Regions from separate parts of the Homo sapiens genome. Here regions 1, 3, 4, 5 and 6 are each linked to region 2. Evidence: promoter capture Hi-C in 16 types of primary human blood cells and fetal thymus (Javierre and others, 2016). All regions are on one chromosome and are shown on one strand. The core of a region is centred on a gene start or on the middle of the fragment in contact, and the rest is flanking DNA. Distances in the headings are between cores, read along the strand shown. Region 1 overlaps ANKAR (ankyrin and armadillo repeat containing). Region 2 holds the start of MSTN (myostatin). Region 3 has its middle 18 kb from the start of ASDURF. Region 4 overlaps ANKAR (ankyrin and armadillo repeat containing). Region 5 overlaps OSGEPL1 (O-sialoglycoprotein endopeptidase like 1). Region 6 holds the start of ASNSD1 (asparagine synthetase domain containing 1).

What was found. Contacts are between HindIII fragments. The CHiCAGO score rates a contact against its expected background, and 5 or more counts as called.
Region 1: a contact is called between a fragment that was not itself captured here and the fragment with the promoter of MSTN in region 2, in 2 of 17 cell types (M2 macrophages and M0 macrophages). The highest score is 7.5, in M2 macrophages.
Region 3: a fragment that was not itself captured here is called in contact with the fragment with the promoter of MSTN in region 2 in 2 of 17 cell types (total B cells and naive B cells); the score reaches 6.0 in total B cells.
Region 4: a fragment that was not itself captured here is called in contact with the fragment with the promoter of MSTN in region 2 in 1 of 17 cell types (M2 macrophages); the score reaches 6.4 in M2 macrophages.
Region 5: a contact is called between a fragment that was not itself captured here and the fragment with the promoter of MSTN in region 2, in 7 of 17 cell types (M2 macrophages, naive B cells, M1 macrophages and 4 more). The highest score is 9.7, in M2 macrophages.
Region 6: a contact is called between the fragment with the promoter of ASNSD1 here and the fragment with the promoter of MSTN in region 2, in 16 of 17 cell types (naive B cells, total B cells, M2 macrophages and 13 more). The highest score is 28.7, in naive B cells.

Annotation. Positions count from the first base shown.
Region 1 is chr2:189,738,644-189,743,718 of GRCh38, reverse strand. ANKAR (ankyrin and armadillo repeat containing) reads right to left here. Exons shown (of 23, transcript NM_001378068.1): 19 at 5,037-5,075; 20 at 2,268-2,377; 21 at 245-444. Among named protein-coding and RNA genes, the nearest start is that of OSGEPL1-AS1, 22 kb to the left of the region's middle. The HindIII fragment of the contact is 3,103 bases long and covers 600-3,702 here.
Region 2 is chr2:190,061,253-190,066,099 of GRCh38, reverse strand. MSTN (myostatin) reads left to right here and starts at 3,371. Exons shown (of 3, transcript NM_005259.3): 1 at 3,371-3,876. The coding sequence starts at 3,504. It also overlaps a transcript of AKAP19 not described here. The HindIII fragment of the contact is 9,340 bases long and covers 1-4,304 here.
Region 3 is chr2:189,640,581-189,645,637 of GRCh38, reverse strand. No RefSeq gene overlaps it. Among named protein-coding and RNA genes, the nearest start is that of ASDURF, 18 kb to the left of the region's middle. The HindIII fragment of the contact is 1,608 bases long and covers 901-2,508 here.
Region 4 is chr2:189,721,653-189,726,269 of GRCh38, reverse strand. The region is part of intron 12 of ANKAR (ankyrin and armadillo repeat containing); the gene reads right to left. Among named protein-coding and RNA genes, the nearest start is that of OSGEPL1-AS1, 39 kb to the left of the region's middle. The HindIII fragment of the contact is 262 bases long and covers 2,280-2,541 here.
Region 5 is chr2:189,754,715-189,759,558 of GRCh38, reverse strand. OSGEPL1 (O-sialoglycoprotein endopeptidase like 1) reads left to right here. Exons shown (of 9, transcript NM_022353.3): 3 at 3,999-4,386. It also overlaps a transcript of ANKAR not described here. Among named protein-coding and RNA genes, the nearest start is that of OSGEPL1-AS1, 5.6 kb to the left of the region's middle. The HindIII fragment of the contact is 1,585 bases long and covers 468-2,052 here.
Region 6 is chr2:189,659,939-189,664,948 of GRCh38, reverse strand. It overlaps ASNSD1 (asparagine synthetase domain containing 1), which reads right to left and starts at 3,490. Exons shown (of 6, transcript NM_019048.4): 1 at 3,339-3,490; 2 at 995-1,048. ASDURF (ASNSD1 upstream open reading frame) reads right to left here and starts at 3,490. Exons shown (of 4, transcript NM_001353493.2): 1 at 3,339-3,490; 2 at 995-1,048. The coding sequence starts at 3,428. RefSeq lists an enhancer at 3,243-3,432. The HindIII fragment of the contact is 6,437 bases long and covers 432-5,010 here.

The DNA of each region.
Region 1 (5,075 bases), core at 902-3,401, 320 kb after region 2:
GAATAATCCTGGCCAGAGAGGATCTCTAAGATCTAGATGTGTTCTTGTCTGCACCCACAACTCTGGTGCTGAGTTGGAATTAAAACAGGTTGTGGCAGTGGTCATTTAGAATAAAGTTTATCCTCTGCTATACAGGAGATATGTTCATATCAAGAATAGTTCCTCTTGTTGGATCTTACTAAACCTCATTAAAGTCTCCTCTATCGATGATTTCACTACTGCAACTTCTAACATAGGACCATACCTTAAGGAAGGAAGTCCCACCAGTGTTTGTTGCATTTGAAATTCCTTTAAAAATGCTGGGTTAATACTTGCATCTCTGCTGATATTATTTTTTATACGAATGAACTGATTAGGTTTATTCCTGCATTCTTTTAATAGGATGCGGAAAGCATTTGCATTGTATGTTAAGTAGCCAAGAGCAGAGGAACAAGCTGCACGAACCTAAATGAAGAAACAATTCTTTCTTAACCAGTGGGCTTTGTTCTTAAAATATCTTAATGTTCTAATTAGCTATTTCATAGGAAAGTCTCTGTAAGGGAGGGAGCAAGTGTAAGCAAATATGTATGCAAACAAATGGCAGTGTATAGACGGAAGCTTAACTGCCATATTTTTACAGAGAGCTGTCAACTGCCATTGATTTCTAGTGGTTGTTCTCAGTCTTAACTGCATTTTAGAACCACCTGGAGTGTTTAAAAAAAAAAAAGCCCACCAACTAAATCAGAATCCTTTCAGGGGTGTGTGTGTGTGTGTGTGTGTGTGTGTGTGTGTGTGTGTGTGTGTGTGTGTGTGTGTGTGTGTGTGTGTGTGTGTCAGGTAATTCTAGTGTGTGTGTGTGTGTGTGTGTGTGTGTCAGGTAATTCTAATGTGTGTGTGTGTGTGTGTCAGGTAATTCTAATGTGCCACCAAAGAAAGAACTTGAGTTTGAACTAAGGTAGTGGATGCAACCCTGACAATGCATTAGCATCACCCATATAACTTTGACAATTATGCCTGGGTTCCATCCCTAGAAACTCTTATTTAATTATTTTGTTTATCATTCTCAAAGGAGTAGGAACAGACACTTTGGAGAATAGCTAAGTGGTACACATAGGAAAGCTGAACTCTTGGTAACAGAAATCTTAGAGAAAGCAACTTATTTATTTATTTATTACTTTAAAAAAATTTTTTTTTAACATTCAGACGTTACAAGAGCAACTCACTTTTCCACTGGCAAAAACAGAAAGAAGCACAAGTGTCAGGCCACAGGACTCTAGAAAAAATAGTTCTTTGAAGAAAATACCCTCTGTCTATGACCCATAGATTGGTCATATGATTAATTAAAGTATGTTCCTGGCCAGTTGTAGGGAATATGATAGTAGCATAAAAAGTTTCATAGAATGAACATATTGGTCTTTATGTTGGCATCCGGTTGCTCTGTATGCTCATATGTCTTCTAAACCTTGAACCCTGGACCTGTAGTTCAGCTGCTGGGAACTTGTTCGAAATGCAAATTCTAGGGCCCACCTCAAATGTATTGGCTCAGAAACTCTAGGAATGGGGCCAAGCAATATAACAGGCCCTCCAGGTGATTCTGATATACCCTAAAGGTGGAGTAACACTGCTTTAGACCTTAGTGGAAGAGAGTAGGGGAACACTCAGAGGCAAGCCACTGCTGTGACCAGCACGGCCTCTTTCACACACCCTTACATCTAACCCTGCTTGACACATAAGGAAAGCTATCCTATGAATTCCATTTTCATTCATTTCAAATCATAGAAATAACTTAGATCAGAGTCACCGGTTTTCATTAGATACTTAGTAAACAATTATAAGTTTCTTTGTCATCAACGTACTTATAGATTGACTCTTAATTCCAGGATTAAGATGACTTATTTTGTAGGGTTTTGTTTTTGTTTTTTAAATCAGAAACTAATTTGAACAGGTAGTTCTTTTTAAATCTTTAATTGTAGTCGTTTTATACTGCTTTTGTGATTAAAATCCTAATTTTAAGTCTTAGGGTTAAAACAAATGTATATTTTTATAGGAATTAAAATTGTGGATGGCAGATATGTATGACTAATTAGTATTAGAAAAGTCATGTAATTTTGAGTTAGTAACAAGAACTATATTATATATATAACACAGTCATGTAATTTTGAGTTAGTAATAAGAATTATATTATATCTATAACACAGTCAATCAGTGGAAAAATTAGTCCACAGAGGGAGAGGTAAATTATATTTTTAGCATATTTAATTTTAGAATTAGTTTTTGCTTGTTTTTACCTCTTCTATTCCCGAGTACAAATGATAGCAGAGCCGTTGGATTGTTCCTAATGTGGTAAATGCTTCTGGGATACCAGCTCTAGAATGAGCCAGGCTTGCTATTAAATTCCCTATAAATTAAACAAGAAAAATGCTTGTGTTATTTAATTGATATAAACTTATAATACTTTCATTAATTGCACATAGCACTGAAAAAAGTTTGTGTCACAAGACATCTCTGTCAATGAAGCAGCACTGAGAAAAAGCATGCATATGTAAATATAGAATAAACTCCCCAAAATTACAGTTTGGTTTTCTGTCACAAATAGTGTAAATTAAATAGGTTTATGTAAGGGTGAAAAATTTGAAAATTAGAGGTTTTCTTTCTCCCATATCTTCAGAATATATTTTGTTTTGAAGTTTTTAGGGTTTTAAAAATAACTATGAACATAATGATTTAATTATCATAAGAAAATTTAGGCCGGGCGTGGTGGCCCACACCTGTAATTCCAGCCCTTTGGGAGACCGAGGTGGGCAGATCACCTGACTTCGGGAGTTCGTGACCAGCCTGACCAACATGGAGAAACCCCATCTCTACTAAAAATACAAAAATTAGCCGGGCGTGGTGGTACATGCCTGTAATCCCAGCTACTCGGGAGGCTGAGGCAGGAGAATCGCTTGTACCTGGGAGGCAGAGGTTGCAGTGAGCAGAGATCGTGCCATTGCACTACAGCCTGGGCAACAAGAGCGAAACTCCGTCTCAAAAAAAAAAAATTAATATGTCCTTTTTGCGGTTGAAATGGCTTTGAGTTAAGCCTTATTAATACTTTAAAATCAATCAATGTATTGCTTATTGAGGTTTAAAAATCACTGAAGTTTTTACATAAAAGTAAATGTTTTCAGATTTAAAATAATAAAGTGTCCCAATAATTAAATGTGCAGCTAGCAACTGAATATTATTTCATTTATATTTGTTTGAAGATAAAAATGTATTTTCATATTTCTGTGTGGAGTATGTGGATACTTTATTGAGATATGACGTGAGTTTTTGTTCTCCTTATATTTTTGTCTGGCCTCTATTATAAGCCAAGAAATTCCTTGTGTTTATTGCCTCCGAATGGGGAAAATTGGTTGTATCATCTAAAGCAAAAATTGTCTAAAGGTAAGCTCTATTTAAAGTTAAAAAGACCCTTTAAAGATGGGAAGTTAGAAATGGAAACAGACCAAGGGAGCAGCTAAGAAAGAGAACTAAAGTTTATAGTTCTCAAAGGAGTAGAAGGAGGAACTCCGAGTAGAGAATAGCTAAGTGGTATAAATAGGAAAACTGAATTCTTGGTAACAGAAATCAGTTTCCTAAAAACTTCTGTGCCTTTGGAGCATCTTCTGGAAACCATGTCAACTTGACACCAAGCACATCAGTTATTTTACACTATACCTGAGGCCTGAATATCAAGCTTTGCCTGAGATACCCTGGACATGCATATGACTGGTTGTGGAGTGCAGAGAAAGTCCAGTAATTTCTGAGATTCATTTCTCCTCATCCTGGAGGAATTAATTTAATATTTGAAAGCCAATGTAATATGGCATTTCTTTCCTATAAGAGTTTGTGGAGGCCAGGTGTGGTGGCTCATACCTGTAATCCCAGCACTTTGAGAGGCCGAGGCGGGCGGATCATGAGGTCAAGAGATCGAGACCATCCTGGCCAACATGGTGAAACCCCATCTCTACTAAAAATACAAAAACTAGCTGGCCTTGGTGGTGCATGCTTGTAGTCCCAGCTACTCGGGAGGCTGAGGCAGGAGAATCGCTTGAACCTGGGAGGCGGAGGTTACAGTGAGCTAAGATCGCACCACTGCACTCCAGCCTGGCAATAGAGTGAGACTCCATCTCAAAAAAAAAAAAAACTGTGGAGTCTAAACCCACTACAGTTGTTTTTCAGAGTCACAGAATTACTATAACATTGAATTAATAATGTTATTTAGATTAAAACATATTTAATAACTTCTTTAAACTTTTTTTCTAGCTAGTTTCCATCAGAAAGTTTTCATTGCTTCATTTTTCCTTCCTTGCCATGCACATATACTTCATAAACATGTAATTCTATGGCATCAAGTAAAGTTTCCTTTAGTGATACATTTTAATTAAAAAACAAATACTTATTTGTTTATATTGGTAGTAGTCACTGCATATTACTCATTCTGACCCTGCCTTATGTTACTTTAAGAGTGGCATAACAAGTCAATTAAATATTACTGATCACCTATTATGTGTGAGCTGTTGGGTTAGGTCTGCAGTAGACACAGTTATACAATAGCAATAAATGTGTTGAGAACGCTATGGGACCATCTTGCTTTGCTTTGTTGCACAGCGATGTAAAGAACTTTTCAGTGTTAGCAAAATGTGCACAACTGGACAAAAGGAAACCAGACAGAGGTACATCTGTGTAAATCTGCCACCACTATTATAAATCAGTTTTTTTATTTTGCTGTTTGTAGGTCATAGGTGAATTCTCATTTATATCTTGGAAAAAAAAGTTAAGGGTTTGAAAAAGTAATTAGGAAAGCAAAAAGTCTGTATTCAGAGTTACTCAGCTTCTGTTTGGGGTACAGAGTAGACACCCATTGTTTCGTGTAGACTTGCTGTGGAGTTCCATGTAGATATAAACATAAGTTCGTTCTTTAAACTTGTGGCAGTGTATCAGGCGTATTATTTTATTATTATTCAGATTACAATAAACTGTTTTTGAAAATAGTTTTATGTGGCTAAAATTAACTTCTAGTCATTTCTTACCTGTCAAGACAATAGTAGAAGTCTGAACTGAATACAGAC
Region 2 (4,847 bases), core at 2,122-4,621:
GATGGCTAACTTAAGACAAAACCAACAAGCTGATAGACGCAGCTCTCCCAGTTAACTAGGAGGAATTCTTCTCTACCCACTCACCCTAATGATGCAGTACTGTCCTGTCTCCTTGGTGATAAGAACTGCCAGAACTGGGTCTCCAGCAGTCAGACTACATTGAAGTTTCCTATAGCTGGTGAGCCCTTCTATTCTGGGGCCTCAGGAAGGTTGCAATCACTGCCACTGGAGAAGGAATAAAACTTACTTAAATTTCTTCAGTTCTTCTTCACCCATTCAATACTGTTCTCTAGAGAAGTTGATTAGATATAGTCAATTCTCCCTATTCATAGTAGTTATGTTCTATAAAGTCATTGCCAACACTGAGTTAGCAAATATTGAACTATTGTTCCCAGGGGAAAAACAGGGTTAGTTGAGCCTCTGGTCATAACATTTACATCACCCAATCAATATATAACCTTGTTTTATGTATGTTTTTGTTTACAAATACATTATTTAATATATATTGTTCATTCATTAACACTGAACTCACAGCCAGCAGCACTATAACTCAGGCCTGAATGATGCTTATCTAGCACATGCATTTTTTCATGAGAACTTTTTTCCCTTAGGCATATCACAGCCTTTTAAAATTGTGGTAAATATACACAACATTTAGCATCTTAACCATTTTTAGGTGTACAGTTCGGTGGCATTAAGCACATTCACACTGTTGTGTAACCATCACCACCATTCATCTTCAGAAATTTTTCATCTTCCCAGACTGAAACTCTGTATCTATCACACAGTAACTACCCCTCAGTGCCTCACCCAGTCCCTGGCAACCACCATGCTACTTTCCATTGCAGCTTTCCTGTGATTAGGAACATAGGAACACCACGCAGCACGTCAGCACTATGCTTGGGGGCCATTTTTAAAAAGCAAAATCAATAAGAGGAGCAATAAAAAAAGAAGCACAAAATATGTGAAAACATGGCACTAAATAGACGGGAAAAAGGGAATTTGTTTATAGTATGAGAGCTGAAACAAAAAGGCGGAACCCTGCCTTGTTTGACCTCATCTGGGAACCTGTGCGTCAGATAGGACTCAAATTTTTTGCCGCTCTGTGAATGCCAGCGAATGACTGAAAAATGCTAGGAATATTGAGTTTCATAGATAAATTTTAGCAAGTAGGCAAATTTGTGAATACAGAAATCATGAATAATAAGAATTGTCTGTTAGCGGAAATGACAACCTTTGTTCACTTTTTTCCAGGTGATAAGAATAAAGAGCTGGAACATGTCTTGTAACCTGGCTGCCTTAGAAAATTTTACTTGCCTCACAGGCCTAGAAAGTAGGCTTTGTGACTGATAATTGGCAGCTATGACCTGAAGCAGTTCTAGTTCATGTGGAGCATAATTTTAAGCATAATCTCAAACCCTTCTGCATAAAACAAAGAGCAAGCACTCAAATGCCAGTTATCAATTACTTACTATATGACAGGTGCCATATTCAGCAATTTACATGCATTATTAAATTATATCCCCCCAAAACCCTATGAGGAAGCTAAAGTTTAGGGAAGTTAAGTATCTCATCCATTATCACATAGTTAGAAGTGGCAAAGTTGAGATTTGAACTCAGGTCTATCTGACTCCAGAGCCTGAGTTCTCAATTCAACTGCTATACAATTCTAAGCATATTAAAAAAAAAGTTTGACTTACTTGGAACTGTATAGATGCATGTGTTACAATGATCATAACATTTGAAAGATTTACACATTGAAAAATGAATTTACCAAACAAATAAAACCTTAGAAGCCAGATCTAATATTGTCCCATAACAAAGAGTATCTGAAATCCTCAGGGCATCTGGTTTGTGTCTGGTTTTCCTTAATCTTTAATGATGAGCAAATCCAATGCATTATGTAAGGCCATTTTTTTCTCAAGAGATGTAGATACCTCTTAAGAATTTGATGAAAATGCATTAACTTTTCAGGCTACTGAGTTGCATTTTAGTGCACCGAGGCAGTAAATTAGTGTACAGTGTGCAAAAATGGTAGTGACTTTAAAAATAAATATTTGATATGAGCCACTGTATTCTCTTGGAAAAAAAAAGTAATGGACTAAATCTCTTAGGAATCCTTAGCTTCCCAAAAAGGAGTAGGAAAAAGAAATCTCCTTTGGCCTAGAAATATCTTCTGTTTCTTGCTGGCTATGTTTGCTTAGCTCTTTAATAGTTCATTTGACTAGATCTTGTGGCTCCCAAAGCTAAGGTTGAACGTTTGATCCCTACAGAGGCCACTTAAATTTAGAGAACAAAAAGCTCTATTCTCTGCTCCCAGACTTTACCCCAAATCCCTGCCAGGTGTCTGCCCTCTGGTCAAAATGAGAAATTGGCAAAGGGGTGCAAACATATCGCAGTATTGGGAAACAACAAAAGGTCACCCCTTTATCATGATGCTCTTTCTCTTTTATGTGCTCATAATATTCTGATATAATTTATAGAGAATAGATACTGCACTTTTTACTCTCTGGATATTTACTGCTGGAAATCTGAGGCAAACTGTAATAATCTCTGCCATGCCAGTTATAAAATTCATTATCTTAGTCTATGTTCAGAGATTTTTCTACTAGCTGGCATTACCCTCTTGGTAATAAACAATGAAAAACACATCTTCTGAGTTATGTTAATCTGCATCTTTAGAATAGGAAATAATAGCACTCAGTCAAAAGTTCAGTATAATTTTCATATTAATAAAAGACATGAAACTATGTAAAAATAATTCCATGCACAATATGTTATAATAACAATGACTTCCAATATTTACTAAGAATTTAGTCAGAAAACAAGTTTCTCAAATTATAGATGAAAATTCTCAACTAGTATCATAATCTTAACTTTTAATTCAGGTCTTCCTAATTTTTATTTTCCTAATTACTTGGCACTAAAAATAATTTAATACAACAAATAAAAATATTTTCTACTTCAAATACTTGCCTAAACAATATAAAATCATTTTAGTTTTTGAGGAAGTAATATTTCATATTTTAAATATGTAGTATAAATTAAAATTGACTTATTTAAATTACAATAAGAGTTGTGTGAGGATTAGTAAGATTTAAGTACAGTTTATATTATTGCCAACATAGACTTTTGTTTTTCAAATGTCACAAATATCTTTTATTATTTGTAGATTTATTTCTTTTATGAAGTAGTCAAATGAATCAGCTCACCCTTGACTGTAACAAAATACTGCTTGGTGACTTGGGACAGACAGGGTTTTAACCTCTGACAGCGAGATTCATTGTGGAGCAAGAGCCAATCATAGATCCTGACGACACTTGTCTCATCTAAGTTGGAATATAAAAAGCCACTTGGAATACAGTATAAAAGATTCACTGGTGTGGCAAGTTGTCTCTCAGACTGTACATGCATTAAAATTTTGCTTGGCATTACTCAAAAGCAAAAGAAAAGTAAAAGGAAGAAACAAGAACAAGAAAAAAGATTATATTGATTTTAAAATCATGCAAAAACTGCAACTCTGTGTTTATATTTACCTGTTTATGCTGATTGTTGCTGGTCCAGTGGATCTAAATGAGAACAGTGAGCAAAAAGAAAATGTGGAAAAAGAGGGGCTGTGTAATGCATGTACTTGGAGACAAAACACTAAATCTTCAAGAATAGAAGCCATTAAGATACAAATCCTCAGTAAACTTCGTCTGGAAACAGCTCCTAACATCAGCAAAGATGTTATAAGACAACTTTTACCCAAAGCTCCTCCACTCCGGGAACTGATTGATCAGTATGATGTCCAGAGGGATGACAGCAGCGATGGCTCTTTGGAAGATGACGATTATCACGCTACAACGGAAACAATCATTACCATGCCTACAGAGTGTAAGTAGTCCTATTAGTGTATATCAACAGTTCTGCTGACTGTTGTTCTAGTGTTTATGAGAAACAGATCTATTTTCAGGCTCTTTTAAACAAGCTGTTGGCCTGTATGTAAGTAGAAAGGAAAAGAGTTTCTCTTTTTCAAGATTGCATGAGAATATATTAATGAGACAAAAATCTGCTGCATTATTTGTTTTCTTATAGAGACAAAAAACTAAAAAATAAAGTACTTGCATAGCATTAATTTAATAAGGCAAATATAGATAGCATGCTTATGCTTTCACAATAATACCACCAAGGCAAGGACTGGGAGATACTACAAGCAGTGTTTAAAACTTACATTAGATTTTAGAATTGTATTTAGTTGTGTAAAATAAGTTTTTTTCACTAATAACAGAAAAAAAAAAAGAAACTTGCTGGATGTTTAAGCTTACTTGAGCACTGCTGAAAACCTCAAGTGATTTCTGTTATTTGAAACTCTCTCAGTAATTTTTTTGTTCTTCACAGTTAAAAATTTAATTTTGAGAGCTATTACACTGAAGAATATGCAAAAATTAAATATCTTAATGTGTTAGTAAGAACAATAATGAAGTAAACATAGCATAATAATCATCATGAACTAAATATTAGAAAATGCCTAAGAAATAAACATTTTAATTGGGTAGGTTATGGCTCACAAAGTCCTCCTTGTACCTTGACCATAGTACTATTATTGAGAGTACCCAGTTTGTGTACTTCCAAGCAGGCACAGTGCTTAATAACCTTCTAAAATATTTTATTCTTCCTGAGAGGGAGGGCTTTTACCTGTAGTATCTACACTGCTTCTGACAGATAACATATTTCATACAATTCCTTTTGCAGTCAGCTCAAAAGAATACTTTCTCCAGGAAAGAGAAACAGGCACCTTGACAGAGAAGGCATGGCAAGAAAAATTTTGTGTTACCTGTTATCTTGCTTTAATACAATGCTTTATA
Region 3 (5,057 bases), core at 455-2,954, 420 kb after region 2:
AGTAAGCCTGATTAACTAAAAAGGAAAAAAAAAGTAAAATATATAAATTCAGGAATGAGAAAGGGAATATAAACACAGGCATGGAAGAATTAAAAAGAAAACCTTTTAAAGAGAAGATTATTTGTAATTCAGTGGCAATAAATTTGAAACTCCAGATAAAACTGTTTATGGCTAAATATGAATTAACACAAGTAACTCAAGAAAAGGAAGTAAACAGTGAAAGACTAATGAATATAGAAGAAATTGAAAAGATTGTTGGAGAAATACTATTTTAAAAGGCGTAAACCTGAGTGATTTTTCGACTGCTGACATTTTTCTAACCTACAAAGAACTGACAATTTCACATATTTGAACTGGTCTAATTCATAGATAATTATGAAAAATTATGGAAAACCTCCAATTTTTGAAGCCAGCATGGTTTACATACCAAAACTTGATAGAAATAGCCCCCAAAACTCATGAGTATAGATGCAAATAATTAACTAAAATATCGATATACTGAATCCATCACCATACTAGAAGACCCAAAACAAAGTAGAATTAATTCTATAGTTAGCAATGATGCATTTCCTTGTTGATGATCTAAACAATAAGTGATTAAGGCCAAGATGATGATAGAAGAAGAACTAAGCCACAGTGTCCAAAGGTTTAAGGCAAGTAATTTAAGTAACTCCTTTACTATTCTTGCAATGAAGAATTACTCTGAATAAAGTCTAATTCCTTTAAATTTGCCAAGAATATTTAAAAGAGTTGCCTATAGTTAAAAACTAAAATTTGCTATTTGGTAACAGAACATTTCTAAACCTCATAACCAGAAGTGATATAAATAGATGTCAAAATCTGGTCTTTTAAGGAAAGAGTAAATAGTATATTTCAGATAGTACACTTAAGTTTTAAGCTTTAACTAAAATATAACCAGAAGAAATAAGACCATTTTGGGAAAAAAAAAATTGATAATGGCTTTAATGTATTTTTTAAGTTAAAATTAATTTTTAATTAACATATAATCACATTTTTATGATTTTTTTTTTTTTGGCTGGAGTGCACTGGCATGATCTCGGCTCACTGCAACTTCTGTCCCCTTGGTTCAAGTGATTCTTGTGCCTCAGCCTCCCAAGTAGCTAGGATTACAGGCACACACCATCACACCTGGCTAATTTTTGTATTTTTAGTAGAGACGAGGTTTCATCATGTTGGCCAGGCTGGTCTTGAACGCTTGACCTCAAGTGATCCGCTCACCTTGGCCTCCCAAAGTGCTGGGATTACAGACATGAGCTGCCACACCCGGCCACATGTTATGAAAATTTTAACAGCTTTTTTACATTGATGAAATATTCAGTTTAGAGCTTTAAAATTAAGAAATTTGCCCATCTGGACATGGTCATAATTGAATTATGAATATGAGAAAAGTGTGGCAAAAGTAGTTTTATTTTTTCATTTAGAACTCAAGGAAAGTTCCCCACACATTAAAGTGATAAAACTTAAGCCCTTCAATTACTGCTGCCTAGCAAAATGCCTGGCACCTATTAGGCTTTCCAATATTTGTCTAATTCAACTGAAATCAGTTTTGTAGCCACTGAAGACCATTCCACAATTTTGTTCACTGAACGCTTCGAGATAAAAGGTCAGTGAGAAAATAGAAGTCCTGAGCCCTAGAACCATCTCTGTACTGATCTATGTGACGTTGGACAAAACATTACATTCTTTGGATTATTGATCTATGACCAATGTATTCTCAATATCTTTTAGGTCATGTGAGCCCCCCGCTCCCCCACCCATTTTTTTTTTTTTGGTAAGGCGAATGAATTTCTTTACTTATCAATGTTGGATGAGTTTAGGAACTTAAGATAAAGGCCTGAAATGTTAGCTAACCAACAAAAATTTGTATGAGATAGGCACTATTATTCTGGAACAGAATAGAAATGAGTCAAAATGTGAACATCATATATAATTTTCTAGTAGCCATATTAAAAAGGTAAACAGAGACAGGTAAAATGAATTTCAGGAATATATTTTACTTAATGTATCAAAACATTACCATTTCACCATAAAATCAATATAAAAATTATTAAGATATTTTACTTTTTTATGCTATTTTCAAAATCTGTTGTGTATTTTACACTTACAGCACATTTCAATTCAAATTTGCTAGATTTCAGGGGTTCAGTTGCCACATGTGTCAGTGGCTAACTGTATCGGTCAGTACAGGTCTAGGCCTGCTAACTTAATAAAATAATACAAAAGAGTGTCTGTCATTATTATGTGAAATCTAGCATGATGGCCAAATAAGCCTTAAGATGATTCTCAAGCATAACAGTGGGATAGAAGTTTTCCTTTTTTGATTTGTAAAATGGGTGAATTGGGTAAGATGATCCACAAGGACTCTTCAGTTTTTAATACTGATGCTGTAGTTCTGTCAAAGTGCTTTACATAGAAGAGGTTGCTTAACATTGCTGTATTAGGTGTGTCGATTTTATATATGTGCTCTGTGTCATTCCATAAAAAGCTTAGAAGCAGAAACTGTGGAAAAAAGAGAAAAATAGAAAAAAAAGGAGAAGGAGGGAGGATGAAAGGAATGAAGAGAGGAAGGGAAGAATTAGGGGAAGAAGTGGGAGAAAAAGAGAAAGGAATGGAGGAAGGAAAAGGGATAATTGAGTCAAATCTCAAAAATGTCAATCTTCATTAGGTTAATTGGTAATTATTTATGATATCAAGTGAACTTTCAAACAGAAACCTTAGCTGTTGCATGCAGTGCTCTTTTAAGCTACAAAATGCATTTTAAAAATAGACTTTGTCCCGAGAACCGCCTTCGACTGTGAACAGACTTGCATATGGCACAAGTCTAGCAGACCTTGGGCTTCATAATCACAGCCTTGTAAACTGTAAAGTTCACATCACTACGAGAGTGACCACACACAAAATCTGCAATCTACTCCCTTTATTTTCTTGTTCAATGATTTAGAAAAGCATGATATCAATGTAAATATATTTCAACTTGTAAATTTTATTGTTAAGAGTTAACTGGGCCGGGCGCAGTGGCTCACACCTGTAATCCCAGCACTTTGGGAGGCCGAGGCAAGCGGATCATCTGAGGCCAGGAGTTTGAGATCAGCCTGGCCAACACGGTGAGACCCTGTCTCTACGAAAAATGCAAAAGTTAGCTAGGCCTAGTGGCGCGTGCCTGTAATCTCAGCTACTCGGCAGGCTAAGGCAGGAGAATCGCTTGAACCCAGGAGACAGAGGTGGCAGTGAGTCAAGATCGCGCCGCTGCACTCCAGCCCGGGTGACAGAGTGAGACTCCGTCTCAAAAAAAAATAAATAAATAAAAAGGAAAAGAGTTCACTGAAAGCTCTTAGTGGCTCAAGAGGTACTCTCTGTTGAAGCCTACTTGATTAAAACAAAATGGTGGCTAGTTTACTTTTAGATGCATTTCTAGTTTTGAGTTGAATTGGGAAATATACCTCCAGAGGGTAGAACAGAGAAGGGGTATACCTATAGTGATCAATAATAGGGCTTTTCAGTGTAGTTTTCATAGCAGTTGAACTAAAATTCTGGCCTTGTTCATATGTGGCTGCACTTGTTGGACTGTGAACCACTTGACAGTGAATAGGTCTACAGGTATACAAGTTTAGCTCCAGCACCTTCCATAGTAGGTGCTTTCATCCACCTCTAATGACTTCCATTTTTATCTATATGCTGACAACTCTCAATTTGTAACTTGAGTTCAGGTCTTTCTTTTGAGTTCTAGTCCCATTTTACTCAAGACCTGCGCCTGGTTGACTCACAGATGTTTCACACTCAATGTGTCCCAGACTGAACTCATTATGTTTCCTCTTCCAGGGTTTCTTATCTCAGCAAATGACATGGCCACCCACCCAGTTGCTCAAATCTGAAACCTTGACTCATGGATTCCTCTACCTCTCACAGCCCACCAATCATTAAGCTCTTCTGAGTTCCTTCAGATGGATTTCTTAAATCCATTCACCTTACTCCATCTCTGCTGCTATCACTTTAGTCCATCGTATTTCCCCTGACTACTGCAACAGCCTGTTTTCCCTGTACCCACTCAGGCATCTCTGCCTTCCAAGCACTTTGGGGACTTTTAAATATGTAAATAAGATTACTTCAGCCCCTTGCTTAAAGTATTCAGTGGCTCCCCAGTGCTTTTAAATTCTAAACTCTCTTACCTGGGCCTACATGGTAGTTGCTTGTGCCACTGTCCCCTTCATTGACTATTTCCAGCCTTTTTGATCTTATTTCTCTTCCTAGTACTCTCTAAGCTCTTTCTACTTCAGGTTCTTCCAACATGCTGTTTACCTTGCCTTAACATACACGCTTAATTCCAATTAACTTCTCAGGTTTCACCCTACTTGTCACTTGTCACTTCTTCCTGCAAGCCTTTCCTGAGCACAGGAGGAGGTTAAGACTTTCTTTATTTTCTTTATGTGTTCTTGTAGCTCCTTGGATTCCTTTGTGATCCTTATCAGGTTTGTTTTATTGACAGTATGCTTATTTTTCCAATGTGGAATTGGACTGTTTCTCATGTATTGTTATATCTCTAGTAACTATCACTGGGGCTGATAAATTAGCAGGCATTCAACAATAAATATTAGTCAAAGTACTGAGGGAATGGATAAATATACTCCTACCTTTGATTGGATTAACAGCTAGGTTGTTGCTATTCACATGTCTCTTGGCTTATATATTTTAAAAGATTTCATTATACTCCTGAATATTTTTGTATAGTAATAATAACTCATACAAATTGTTTAGAATTATTCAGCCTCAGGCTGGGTGCTGGGGTTCATGCCTATAATCCCAGCACTTTGGGAGGCAGAGGCAGGAGGATCGCTTGAGCCCAGGAGTTCTAAACCAGCCTGGGCAACATAGGGAGATCCCATCTCTTAAAAAAAATTTAAAAATTAAAAATAGCTGGGCATGGTGGTGCACACCTGTGGTCTCAGCTTCTTGGGAGTCCGAGGTGGGGGGATCACTTGAGTTTAGGAGGTTGAGGCTGCAGTGAGCTGTGATCAAGCCATTGTACTCCAGCCTGGGCA
Region 4 (4,617 bases), core at 1,161-3,660, 340 kb after region 2:
CCTCATTGGTGATGTTAATTTTGATCACCCAGTTTCTCTACTGTATAGTTGCTATTTTCCCTCTTGCAACTAATAAGGAGCAAAACACTTTAAGACCATGTAAATATCAAAATTTGCCCCCAAGATTTAGCAACCATTTATAATTTTTGCCTGAACCAATCTTTACTATGCTGTTTGCAAAATACTAATTTTCCAAATCTACCACCCCTTCACATTTGTCAATTGACATTCTGCTATAAGGAAGAGCCCTACCTTATTCTCTATTTATTTGTTTCCTTGTTTATCCAGTTGTTATCAGGATGAGGGCACAGGCTCCTATTTTATTCAACCCTTTACTTTTCTTTTCTTTTCTTTTCTTTTTTGAGACAAGGTCTCGCTCTGTCACCCAGGCTGGAATGCAATGACATGAACTCAGCTCACTGCAACCTCTGCCTCCCAGGCTCAAGCGATCCTCCCACCTCAGCCTCCCAAGTAGCTGGGAATACAGGCATGTGCCACCATGCCCAGCTAATTTTTGCATTTTTAGTAGAGATGAGGTTTTGCCATGTTGCCCAGGCTGGTGTTGAACTCATGAGCTCAAGCTATTTGCCCGTCTTGGCCCCGCAAAGTGCTGGGATTATAGGCATGAGCCACTGTGCCCGGTGTATTTTCTTACTTATGTTGGTACCCAAAATTGTCTAAGATTTGGCCAGTGGGAGCCCCTTCAGGTTGTCCTTGTGTCCTATAGATATGCCTATAGATATAGATAGTAAAAAAAAGGATTTTATTACTTTCTGTCACCATATGATGATGTTCCTGACTCACCATATACCTTCTCTGCCCCTGCCCCAGAATCAACTATTTCTCCAAGAAGCTCTGGTTCCTTTTAATGAGGGATGATATTTAGAAACCAAGATTTGGGTGCTCGGTATGCTCATTGCTACTGGAATATCATTGCTTCTGGATCATATATATGTGTGTGTGTGTGTGTGTGTGTGTGTGTGTGTGTGTATAAATCCATATATATAAAATATGTATACATATATATGTATGTGTATACACACACACTCATACATACACACATACATTTCCAGTTCCAATCCAACCCCACAGGGTTTATTGTTTTCCTACATTCTGCACATTTCTTTGCACAGTAAGAACCCAATAATATCAACACATTTATTCATTTCTTTAGTCCTATGGTACTTATCATATGGGTTCAGAATTGTTCTACCCATATCATTATGACATACAAGCTCACTAAAAAGAACTCAAAATCTGTGTGTAGTTTGTTTTGTGTTTACCCTTAGAAAGATGGTATATAATGCACTGTGTTTAAAATTATTTGTATTCATTTTTTCTTTTCTTTTTAAATCTAGTTATACAATTTATTTCAGTTTTCATTTCCCCCAGCCTTGTAGATTTAATTTTTTTATTATGTAGAATATCAATATATTTCCAAAAGCAAAACTAAATAGAAAAGTGTTTGTGCATTCATGTAGCTAACTATATCCTTTAGATGCTCTATAATCCAGCATTTGTTTTTTCATATACTATCAAGGTTAATTATCTCTCTATTAAGGCCTTATTGTTCATACCAACTTCTATACCCACTTTATATCAATTTATGTCAAAAATATTAACTATTTTTATTGTTATGAGTATGTTATTCATTTAATCATCTAATCATTTATTTAATGCATATTTATTGAATAGCTATGTGCTAGACACTGTCCCAGGCACTAGGGAAATAAAGGTGAACCAACAAAACAAGGTCCTTGACCTTGTCGAACAAAAGGAAAGGCCAGAGTAAAGAACAAAGCAATAAGTTCAATATTACTTGAGAGTAATATCAGAGAAAAAGGGAGTGACAGGAAGGTCATTTCCTCTTGAAGTAGGGAAGTAAAAAGGGCTATAGGCCATGCTGGAAACATGGATCATATCCTAGGTGATAGAGAGTCACTGAATAATTTAAAGAAGAAGATATGATCAACTTTACATTTTAGTTAGATCACTCAAGTAACACTTGGAATGTTAACCCTGAAAGATTAATAAAATTAAGAGAGTGTGGGGGAAACCATTCTTTCCCTTACCCACTATTCCTGAATCAGTACAAAAAGTAGAAATTCCTCTACCCATGGCCAACTCAGAAATGTTAAGAATAAAAATTTACCCCTTACTCATTCTTCCCCATGAGAAGAATAGTGAGTTACATAATTTTTTAATTTGAAGAATGAGTCATTGCAAATGCATGGTTTACGTTCTTTTTGGCACTTTTTGTTGTTTTCTCAAAGCAAGCTTTCCAACAATAATGCTGAAGTTTTGATCTTTATTTGATTCCTGTCTATTTCTCATTTGGACCCAAATTCTGAAAGGAATGGAAGTGTCTTTACTAAGCTATTCAGTAATCCAAAGTAGCTCTAAAGCTCAGGGAAGACGTCAGGGATGTGGATAAAGAACTGGGAAGAATAGATTGTAAACCTAGTAGAGTTCCTTTGGAGTGAATAAGAGGTAAAGAAGAGTATGCTGGATGAAAGCAGCAGTATGACAAGAATGGAAGCTTAAGGAACTCCAACTTTTAAGAGTTGGCTAAAGGAGGACTAATGGTGAAGGCAGACTTTACAACTTTTGGGGTCATAATTCCAAAGTTTTCAGATTTTAGAATGTAAGGAGTACATAATACTACATATTGTATAACATCACAAAGGGTCTGGAGAAAATCAATTTCTGCAGAAATATGTGAATAATCATTCCAAGAAAAAAAATGAGGTGATCTTTTAAGTTTTTCTCAGTTTGAAACTGAAAAAGCATTTTGTATGCTTTTGTTACATATTTGAGTTTCTGTGGTGGTGTCATATAAACTTTTGTTATTAACACAGAACAGGAAAGTAGGGTACCATATGAAATCAGAAGCATTGTAGGAATGAAAGCATGCATACATGAATATATGTATATAAGAATGTGCATACAAGCAGCTAAATGGGTGAAGGAAAGGCCTAAAACAAACCAAACTTAGCAAGGGTAGCCTTGCTCTGGACATAGAGACTCAGACCAAGGAGATGTTAACAAATCCATCTTTTCAAGAAACTGTATGTGAATCTACTTTGGGGCCATTTTAATACATGAAATCTTAGAGTAGCTCACATGGTAAAGAAGACACTGGAATTAATAATATGCCTTTGTGATCTCCTATACCTTAACAACCCAGCTAACATCCAAGAGGACTATTTGCTAAAGCACTGAAGTTATATAGGGAGGCTTACCTAAAAGGAAAAAATAATTAAAATTTATTTCAAAATTAAGTTATCTTCCTTGGAGTGAGGACATAATGTAGATTATGGTGTAGGAAAAAATACTTTTATTTCAATAATTTATTTCATACTATAGTTTTCTTTTCTTTTTTTTTTTTTTAGACAGTGTCTCTCTCTGTTGCCAGGCTGGAGTGCAGTGGCATGATCTCGGCTCACTGCAACCTCTGCCTCCCAGCTTCAAGCGATTATCCTGCTCAGCCTCTCAAGTAACTGGGATTACAGGCACGCGCCACCACACCCAGATAATTTTTTTGTATTTTTAGTAGAGACAGGTTTTCACCATGTTGGCCAGGATGGTCTTGATCTCCTGACCTTGTGATCCACCCGCCTTGGCCTCCCAAAGTGCTGGGATTACAGGCGTGAGCTACCACACCCGGTGCTATAGTTTTCTTTCATGAACTCATTTATTATTTATTTATTCAAATTGTTGCTACAATTTGTACTTTGTTACAGCATCTGGGATTGAGAAAAGGAAAACAGAAAGAGAAGACCTAGTCCCTATCTTTAAATTTTAATTAGTTAGATAAAACACAAACAAAAAAAGAGATAAAGAATGACTATAAATGAGTAAAAATTATATGTTTAAAATATACATAAAAGCTGACCCTCTCTAATGCTATTCTTTTTTCCTTTTTTTTTTTGAGATGGAGTCTCGCTCTGTTGCCCAGGCTAGAGTGCAGTGGTACAATCTCAGCCCACTGCAACCTCCGCCTCTCGGGTTCAGGCAATTCTCCTGCCTCAGCCTCCCAAGTAGCTGGGATTACAGGCGTGCACCACCACACCCAGCTGATTTTTGTATTTTAGTAGAGATAGGGTTTCACCATGTTGGCCAGGCAGTCTCGAACTCCTGACCTCAGGTGATCTGCCTCAGCCTCCCAAAATACTGGGATTATAGGTGTGAGCCACCACGCCTGGCCTCTGATGCTATTCTTAAAGGATAAAGTAGAGCATAGTAAGCGATGGAAGAACACTTGAACAGAGAGAGCATAAGGAATTTGTTATGAAGGAAGAGGGCTTTCAAATGATGTCACCACACGATAGAGGTTCTTAGAAAGTGACACTTGCTTAAATTTGAAGTTTTAAAGTAAAGGAAAGATCGCTTCTACATTCCCCTTATTCTTAATCTTGACTTACATTTAACCAATATATTTATTTTGTATTTATTCCTGGTGAACTGGAAGAGGAAGCCAAATGATATACTGAGCAGGAAGAAAATGAGCAAGTTCTTCTCAATTTTCTCTTCCCCCAAATTTGGGGAAAACCGTATATTTGGAACTTACCTGTTAAATGTGCTAACTGGAATGAAATTATTCTTACAGAACCCAGG
Region 5 (4,844 bases), core at 11-2,510, 300 kb after region 2:
AGGAAAATTGGCTGGGCGCTGTGGCTCACGCCTGTAATCGCATCACTTTGGGAGGCCGAGGCAAGTGGACCATGAGGTCAGGAGATTGAGACCATCCTGGCTAACATGGTGAAACCCCATCTCTACTAAAAATACAAAAAAAATTAGCCAGGCGTGGTGGCGGACGCCTGTAGTCGCAGCTACTTGGGAGGCTGAGGCAGGAGAATGGCGTGAACCCGGGAGGCGGAGCTTGCAGTGAGCAGAGATCGCGCCATTGGACTCCAGCCCGGGCGACAGAGTGAGAGTCTGTCTCAAAAAAAAAAAAAGGAAAATTAACATCTGCCTCATAGAATTACGGGAGGGTGGCATTAGAAATAATGTATGTAAAGAGGCAGATTGAGCCTCAAACAATAACTATGTGAAAGGGACTGTGTTGGATATTAGTAAGGCACTGTGAAGTACTGCAAAGTCCTTGGTTTAAGGAAGCTTAACTTGATTATGGAGACATGATGTCTAGACCTACAAGGAGAATTAATAGTGCAAGGCAGCATAGCATAAGGAAAAACAAGTGGTGCAGACAGTAACTATTATTACCGTGCCTCAGCTTCACAGTCCTTTCAGTTTTTCCTGAGTGCACTGAACTTTTGAACATGTAAAAGTTAATGGCACAGAAAGGACTACCCTGACCACTTTATCTAAATTAGGTACTCCCATCCTATTTATTCTGTATCATCATACCCTGCATATTTTCTTTGTAATACTTTCACAATTTATACATTTGCTTGTGTATGTATAATCTCTCTCAGTAGAGTCTAAGTGCCAAGGTGACAGGGGCCATGTCTATATTAATCACTATGCTATGCCTAGTGCCTAACACAATGTTTGACACATCACAGGTGTTCAGTGGCCTTTCGTTAGGCCTTCAGTGAATGGAGATGGAAAGAATATTATAACCTGTGTTAGTTCATTCTTGCACTGCTATAACGAAATACCTGAGACTGGGTAATTTATAAAGAAAAGAGGTTTAATTGGTTCGTGTTTCCACAGGCTGTGTAGGAAGCGTGGCAGCATCTGCTTCTGGGGAGGCCCAGGGAGCTTTTACTCATGGCGGAAGGCAAATTGGGAGTAGGCGTCTTACATGGCAGGAGCAGGACCGAGAGAGGGGGGGTGAGGTGCTACACACTTTTTTTTTTCTTTTGAGATGGAGTTTTGCTCTTGTTGCCCAGACCAGAGTGCAATGGTGCAATCTTGGCTCATCACAACCTCCGCCTCCCGGGTTCAAGCGATTCTCCCCCCTCAGCCTTCAGAATAGCTGGGATTATAGGCATGCGCCACCATGCCCAGCTAATTTTGTATTTTTAGTAGAGATGGGGTTTCTCCATGTTGGTCAGGCTGTCTCGAACTCCCGACCTCAAGTGATCCACCCACCTCGGCCTCCCAAAGTGATGGGATTACAGGCGTGAACCACCACTCCCGGCCCACACTTTTAAACAACAAGATCTCATGAGAACTCATTGACTATCGCGACACAGTACCAAGGGGAAAATACGCCCCCATGATGTAGTCATCTCCCACCAGGCCCCATCTTCAACATTGGGAATTACCATTCTACATGAGATTTGGGCAGGGACACAGATCCAAACCATATCACTAAGTGAGCATTGTCAGCAAAGACAAAGAAGTGAGAAAGTACTAGACATTCAGTTTAGCTAGAGCATAGGTCACTTGAGGAGACTACTGGGCAAACAGGCTTCAGTGATACCATCCACCTGGCTCATCTCAGCATTTTTTGAATACCTATAGCTGCCAGGCAATACTTAGGGCATTTGGGATACAAATATAAATGAGACATATGACTCTTGCCTTTGAACAGCTCACCATATAAGTGGGTTAGAGTGTAGGCTTATATTCTGGTTCAGCCATTTACTAGGCTTATATTCTGGTTCAACCATTTACTACATTTGATACTGTGCACAGTTTTTTGTGCCTCAGTTTCCTTATCTGTAAAATGATAATAATGACCACTAACTCAAATTAATGTTGTGAATATTAAGTGTGAATTCCTTTAAAGCTTTTAGGGCATTCTTCTTGAATAGCAAGGGCTGAATACAAGCTAGCTCTTAGTAACAATAGTAGTTCTACTACTACCATCAGTAAAAATGAAGAAGACAGTAAGCAGATCATTGTGAAACAGCATGGAAAATGCAATAATAGAGGATTACTTGGCAGGAGGAGTCCCTTCTTCCAAGCCAGAAACCTGAAGGACACCCTTGACTTCTCCCTCACCATTCCACATCCAAATCAGTCATCCATTCATAGTAAATCCATCTCCCAAATATTTTTTGCAACTTTCCTCTCCCTTCTCACTGACTGAGTTCAATCCCTTATTGTCTTTTGCACAGACTCTTGGCTATAGCTTCAAGCCTCAGTGGTTTCCCTGCCTCTTTGTTAGCTTTGTTCCATAATCCACACTCCATACTGTCTACAAATCATAGACAAAAATACATTGTTATTATTAATTCTTTGAGAATAAAGCCATGTTCTTATTTGGCCCTAGTGTTTAGCATAATCCCTGGAAGATAAAATACACAGAAAAGGCATAGAAAGGAAAGGAGGGAGGCAAGACAGAGAAGGAAGAAATGAGTTGCAGGGAGAGAATTTGGATTTGATGTCTCCCAAATTCCATGAAACTAAAGGTTTTGAGTAGGGGAATAACTGGTAGCATGTGCTTTAGAGTATTCTCTGGCAGCAATATAGGATGGGCTCTAAGGATCAAAGGACAGAGTTAGGAAAGTACAATTAGAAGACTGTTGAACAGACTGAGATGAGGGCTTTTGAGACTTGGCAGTGGGAGTGGTGATAAACTTAAATGCGGAGAGTGAGGGAGAGAAAGGAAGTAAAGATGAACTTTGAAACCCAAGGGTTATTTGATGCCACTAACAAAGATGAGGAATATAAGAGAAAAAGTAGCTTTGAAGAATTAAGGAAAATTATATTACAATGTGGATGTGTTGAAATCAGATCATTTCATTTATATCCCCCTCATTGCCTGAAACAATATTTTAATTACTCAGCAAATATTCATTGAATGCACTTACTGAGGATTTTCATTTCTACACATAGAACTAGTAGATCTTGCAACATCAAATATTGGAAGATGATTTTTTTTTGAAACTAGCAGTGCGTTTTGCAGACTCTATTTTATTGCTCCAGTTCTCATATTGTAAATCAATCACATGGTAGCAAATTTGTTGCTAGCAAATTTGTCTCTTAGTTCTTTACACTTGATATTTGGAGTGGCCATCCACCATCCTACATGGACCAAAAATCCAAATTACAAACTCTGAGCACCAGATTCCCAAACTGTATTTCAGGATTGCAAGCTATCTGCTATCCTGCTGTGACCTCAAGTGGAATGTGTTTTAAAATAAACTCGTCGTCTTTATAAAACTGTCTTCATGTTTCTCTTTTAGAATTTCTTTTCTCCCGGTCATTCCAGCTGAATAGCTGAACAAACTTTGATGCCTTAGTCCCCCTGTCCCTTTATATTCAGTTAGTTATTATAGTTCTTAAGGTTCTCTGTCCCTTTCTTTCCATTCCCACAATCGCCCAGTTTAAGATATAATCATTTTACACAAATACTTTCGCAGTAATCTCTCTTAAAATCTTCTGTCAGCAAGGAAATTAATTTTCCTTAAATACAATTTTTTCCTGTCCTTCCCATGCTCAAAACTTGTATGGAATGCTTTACAAGATTATTTTGGTGATTTCATTTGTCAACAAACAAATCCATGGGAGTCTGTTGTGCATAAACTGAAAAAGTCAGAAACATTATCCCCTTAATTACTGCTTACTGAGTTTTAACCATAGTGTGCTATGTTAGAAGGCACACAATTAGAAAATACTTGACTTACTCAGCTATATAATGATTAACTTGAAGACATGCTTTTAGCTGTAATATCATTTTTCTTCATTTTTACAATCTTAAAACTACAAAATGCTGTCTTTCTTTCTTTCAGAACAGGTGGGATTGTTCCTCCAGCAGCTCAACAGCTTCACAGAGAAAATATTCAACGAATAGTACAAGAAGCTCTTTCTGCCAGTGGAGTCTCTCCAAGTGACCTCTCAGCAATTGCAACTACCATAAAACCAGGACTTGCTTTAAGCCTGGGAGTGGGCTTATCATTTAGCTTACAGCTGGTAGGACAGTTAAAAAAGCCATTCATTCCCATTCATCATATGGAGGCTCATGCACTTACTATTAGGTTGACCAATAAAGTAGAATTTCCTTTTTTAGTTCTTTTGATTTCTGGAGGTCACTGTCTGTTGGCATTAGTTCAAGGAGTTTCAGATTTTCTGCTTCTTGGAAAGTCTTTGGACATAGCACCAGGTGACATGCTTGACAAGGTAATTAAGAATTAATTTCTCCATTCTTTTTTGTTATGTTGTCCATTTCAACTAAGTAGCAATAGATGTGCTACCACCATTCACCTAAATATTTCTGAATTTTATCTTAGTAAACTGAAAAAAATTCACATATGGTGAGAAAAAATAGAAAGAGTAGTACACAATTTTATAATTCTTAGCCTTTCTTAATAAAATGGTAAGAGGTTCATATCTGTACATAAAGGCTGAAATAGTTTGCAGATACAGTTATGTATTTTGCCAAATAATGTATGTGAAAGAACGTGCTTCGTAAACTAACATACTGCAAAAAAGGTAAAATAAGAGAATATATATAGATTAACATAAGGACATTAAAGATGCAATGCACAGAATTAAATCACACAATTACTTACACCACAGACAGGGTCCCCCCCCACCCCCCTTTGTTTTAGAATACTACAGAGGCTACTGCCATATAT
Region 6 (5,010 bases), core at 2,241-4,740, 400 kb after region 2:
TGCTATTGTAAATCAAGGTTGTGATGATTATCTTTGTAACTAAATCTTTGTGCACTACCATGATTCTCTCCTAAGTATCAACTACTATAAATGGAACTGCTGGGTCAAAGTGTTATAGTTTTGAATTGTTGAGACTTTTTGCCAATTTGCCCTCTAGAGAAAGTCTGTATTAATTCTGCCTCAACTTCTTTTTTTTTTTTTTGAGAAGGAGTCCTGCTCTGTAGCCTAGGCTGGAGTGCAGTGGTGTGCTCAGCTCACTGCAACCTCTGCCTCCCAGGTTCAAGCGATTCTTGTGCCTCGGCCTCCTGAGTAGCTGGGATTACAGGCACACGCCTGGCTAATTTTTGTATGTGCCTCAACTTCTAATATTCCATAAGTGACAATATCAGAAATATCTAACCAGCCAGTTATTACATAATCTTTACAAAGCTTTTAAGAGCTCAAACTCATTTCTTCCTGAATGTTAAAATGCAATTTGACACTATAACCATACACAAAGCAGTAGCTTACTTGTTTGTAACATATTAATGGAAATGGCATTAAATAACCATGTTACACATTTAGGAAAATCTATGTAAAAATTTTTTGGAGGGAGGGGAAGCAATGTATCCTTTTTTGTTCAATAATTATCCACATTCATTTAAAAGAAAAGTTTCTTCTCATCTCAATATAAAGTTCGTTTATATCAAAAGAAAACATCAAATTCAGGTATAAAACATCATTAGTGATTATAGCTCCAAGATACCAAAATACAACTAGTATCATTTGTTGCAAAGGCAATGTGAATGGCATATGATAGAAAAAAGACATCTTCAGCTATGAGATCTATCCATTTAAAAAAAGAATCTAGACACTTGCAATTTTAAAAGATGCTGAAATACTATACATTTTATTAAAGTATGATTAAATCTTATATATACTTCTTATAACTTTAATATATAGTTAACATAAATAAACCTCCCACATATTATTCAGAATTCCTATAATAACTCACCCTATTCTTCTTAAGGTTAGAAAGTTCATCCACCACAATTTTTTGTTCTTTAATCTATTGAAATAAAGAAAAACTCCTTAAGTCAGATGTTTTCAAAGTATGCTCAATGAAAATCCCTTAAGGGGTTGTTTTAAAATTAGAGATGGGATAAGGGGCTATGATGTACTGGTTTTCCAAACGGGCAGTTTGTGAATATACAGATCATTTTCAACAGGAGTCTCTGTGTGGGGGTACAGTTCAGGAAAAGCTGGAGGAGAAAAAACAGTGATTAGACTTGCAAAATGTTAGGTAACCCATTAAGACCAGACAGGGATTTTCGTGTTCATAACCAGCAATCATGCCAAGGACTACAGTTACTAAACAAGGTTTATACCTTTTGTTAAAAATATATGATATACACCAGGCCGGGTGCGGTGGCTCATGCCTGTAATCCCAGCACTTCGGGAGGCCAAGGCGGGCGGATCACCTGAAGTCGGGAGTTCGAGACCAGCCTGACCAACATGCAGACACCCCATCTCTACTAAAAATACAAAATTAGCCAAGCGTAGTGGCACATGCCTGTAATCCCAGCTATTCGGGAGGCTGAGGCAGGAGAACTGCTTGAACCCGGGAGGCGGAGGCTGCAGTGAGCCAAGATTGCACCACTGCACTCTAGCCTGGGCAACAAGAGTGAAACTCCGTCTCAAAAAAATAAATAAATAAATAATTTAAAAAATATATATATATGATATACACCAAAAGGAATTAAGTTGTGATTTAGATTGAAAATTAAGTTGTGATTTAGATTTAAAAAAAAGCAAATTGAATGAGGGGTGGGTTACTTTTTTCAATATTTTCATGATTTTATGTACTAAGTGCTGCAGTCAAACATTCAAATCAAGCAATGCCCTATTTGGGGACAGTAAGACCTATCATGTTCCATCTTGGTATTTTTCCCTCTTTTTATCTCAATGACTAGCATAGAGCTGGCACTGTTGAACTGGGCTTTTTTTTTTTTTTTTTTTTTGAAACAGGGTCTTGCTCTGTTACCCAGGCTGGAGTGCAGTGGTGCGATCACGGCTCACTGCAGCTTTGATCTTCCCGGGCTCAGGCGATTCTCACACCTTAGCCTCCGAGTAGCTGGGACTACAGGCCTGGGCCACCATGCTGGCCTGGGCTTCATTTATTTGTAGGGGAGGGCTCAACTAAGTGAAAACTAAGTTTCTTTTTAACTCTATTTATTTTGTGAACATGACTGATTACATAGTATCACAAGAGCCTCTAAAAGCAGCTTTTATCATATTTGTGCTACCTCACACACACCTCAGGGATCTGTAACCACCAGTATGCGTAAGTGGCTTGCTATGGTGGTAATCAGAATGGGCTGTGTGTCTTTTGAAAATTCACCCCCAATCCCCATGAATGTGCACCTTTCTGTCTCCCCCGTTGGCAGAGCTGTAGTAATGAGGTTGAATTCCAAGGCCAAATTTGTAAACATTCTTTGAGACTTAACATTTATACAGGGCTTTCCCATTTTAGGAATGACAGGTGTACATTTCACTTTACTTCAAAGAAGGTAACTGATACAGAAAGATTAAAGAGACTTGCCCAAGATGTCATTGTAAGTTTGGGACAGAACCAAAGTAGAATCTAGGACATGTAATACCTGAAGGGCTATAACCCTCGCCACCCCCATTTATCTTTAAAGGTTGTTTGTTTATGGCAGTTAAGGCTTATATTATATTGGCTTCCTCTCTCCCCCAGTTTGGTATGAGTGACAACCCAATGCGTGTTTTAGGACCATTGCTCTGGTTAACGGAGAAGCAGCAGCTAACAGGTGGATGAGGAGAGACCGCTTAGGAAGGCCTTGCCGGGGGCAGGGGTCCCGATAGCAGATGACGGTGGCTTATTTGGGGTGGTAAGAGTGTTCACGGTGATAAAGGGACATATTTGAAATGAGCTTCAAAGGTAGAACTGATAGGCTTCCATGATGGGGGTCAAGGATGGACCCCGGGTTGCTGGCATGGTTAACTGGATGGAGAATATCTTTGATGGAACAGATTTGGGGTGGGCGGTATTTCCAAAAGTTTAAAAAGACTAGGGAGGAAAACACCCAACCAAAACTCCGCCCCACTGTCACCTGGGTCCAGTCTCGGGACAAATTTCAAGATCTCCCTTTTCGCAACTGTTTTCAGAAAATAAAAGGACTAACTGTGGCTGTCAAGTGCTATGAATAAAAAGAGCAAAGTAGCAGGGCAAAGCCGAGGCCCAGGCAGGCCCCACGCTGCCCGCTGCGGACCACCTTCAGGGTCCAGTGGCGCCCGGTCCCGAGTCCAGGAGCCTTTTCGTCGCGTCTCACACTCACCTTGCTGCTTAGATCCTCCTTGTGTGGGGTCGAATTGTCGGTGGGGATCAGCACAGAGCTGTCCTCTGGTCGCGTCCCTCGGCTGGGCATTTCCACCGAGCGCAAGACACGCGGGATGGCTCAGCCCTGAAGGAGCCTACGGCATTAGCCACAGCGCATGCGCGCTTCCAGCCGCGCTCACCCTTTCTTTTCCCGCGAGTCTTACCAATAGCGTCTGCGCGCTCACTTGAACGCATGCGCAGGCCGGGTCTGGCCTGGGGAGGAGTTTCGCGCCTGCGCATGGCTGCTTAGGGAGCGAGTAAACAGTCTGGTTGCAAAATCTGAGGTTCCTGTACTGGCCTCTTGTGGTTGAGATGCAGAAACGCTCAGGTGGTTTCTTCATGACCTCTTATCTAGTATACTACGAGTTCTGTGCGCCCTCCAGTGGTAAATATGAAGAATAGTCGTGCAATAGAAACAGCGCTTAATATGATATTTATTATCTAGGGAAAGATGAAGCTAAGGAACAGATTTAAGAGATACCGTGTTGGCAAAAGAACTGTACAGACTTGGTAAAGTTTTGGTTAACTCGTGGTTAGGGTTGCCGGATAAAATACAGTATGAACTTCAGATGAATTAATAGTTTTTTAGTGCATCTATGTCCCGTGCAATATTTGCAATATCTCATTTCTGTGGAAAAAATGACTAAAACTTGGAAATAGGCAAAAGAGATTTATTTACTGGATGCTCTTTCAGTGCTGCTCTGGACTTGACTTTATTATATTGACTGGGCTGTTTTACAATTCTGTAGGGGCAAAGGTTAACTTTGGTAGAGATTTTGGTTTGGTAGAGATGCAAATAATTTTTTGTTGTACCAGATACCAACACAGGTTATGATTTATTGTTCTGCAACACATTAGTCAGTTTTGTATCTAACCCTGCATTCTGTCCTAACATTTCTTTATTAACATATGCCTAGCTTCTCTAATATTCTGTATTGGTTTTAAAGTCATCGGTTCCCTCACTAACCAATGAGTTGAATAAAAGTTTGACATGTATATATTTTATGTTCACATTAGAGACATGATTTTAGGTTTTTGATAATTATACTATATTATTGGAAATCTTAAGTTTCCACAGAGATGCCCAACTGGATTTATGTGATGAATCAAACTATCTGGCGAAAGAAATGTATACATCATGGGTTGTTTAAGGCCAGGCATGTTTTTTATTTGCTCTTACAGAAAACCCAAGTGGTTATATATTTTTCCTTTATAATTGATTTTTAAAGATTGTGTTTTCATTTCTGATTTGTACATTCCTGATAAGTTATTCAGGTATAACTTATACATTACTGATACATTGATAGCAGCAATGATTGGGAGTTTGGTTTTGTGGTCTAACCATTTGGTGGTATCTGTTGGATGATGGACGTCTAGTCTCATTGGTAGAGAGGTAGATAGGTGCAGTGGCTCAAACCTGTAATCGCAACCACTCGGGGCTGAGGTGGGAGGATTACTTGAGGCCAGGGGTTCAAATAAATAAATAAGAGAGGTGACAGAGAAGCGAGTTTGTAAGTCTTTTTGTTTATTGTTTGTGAGCTCAAATTAATTAATTACTTTTGTGTCCACTGAGAGGGAAGGAGGACAGCTATTTGAGATGTGGGCTAGTAAGGTTTTGTTTGTTTGTTTTA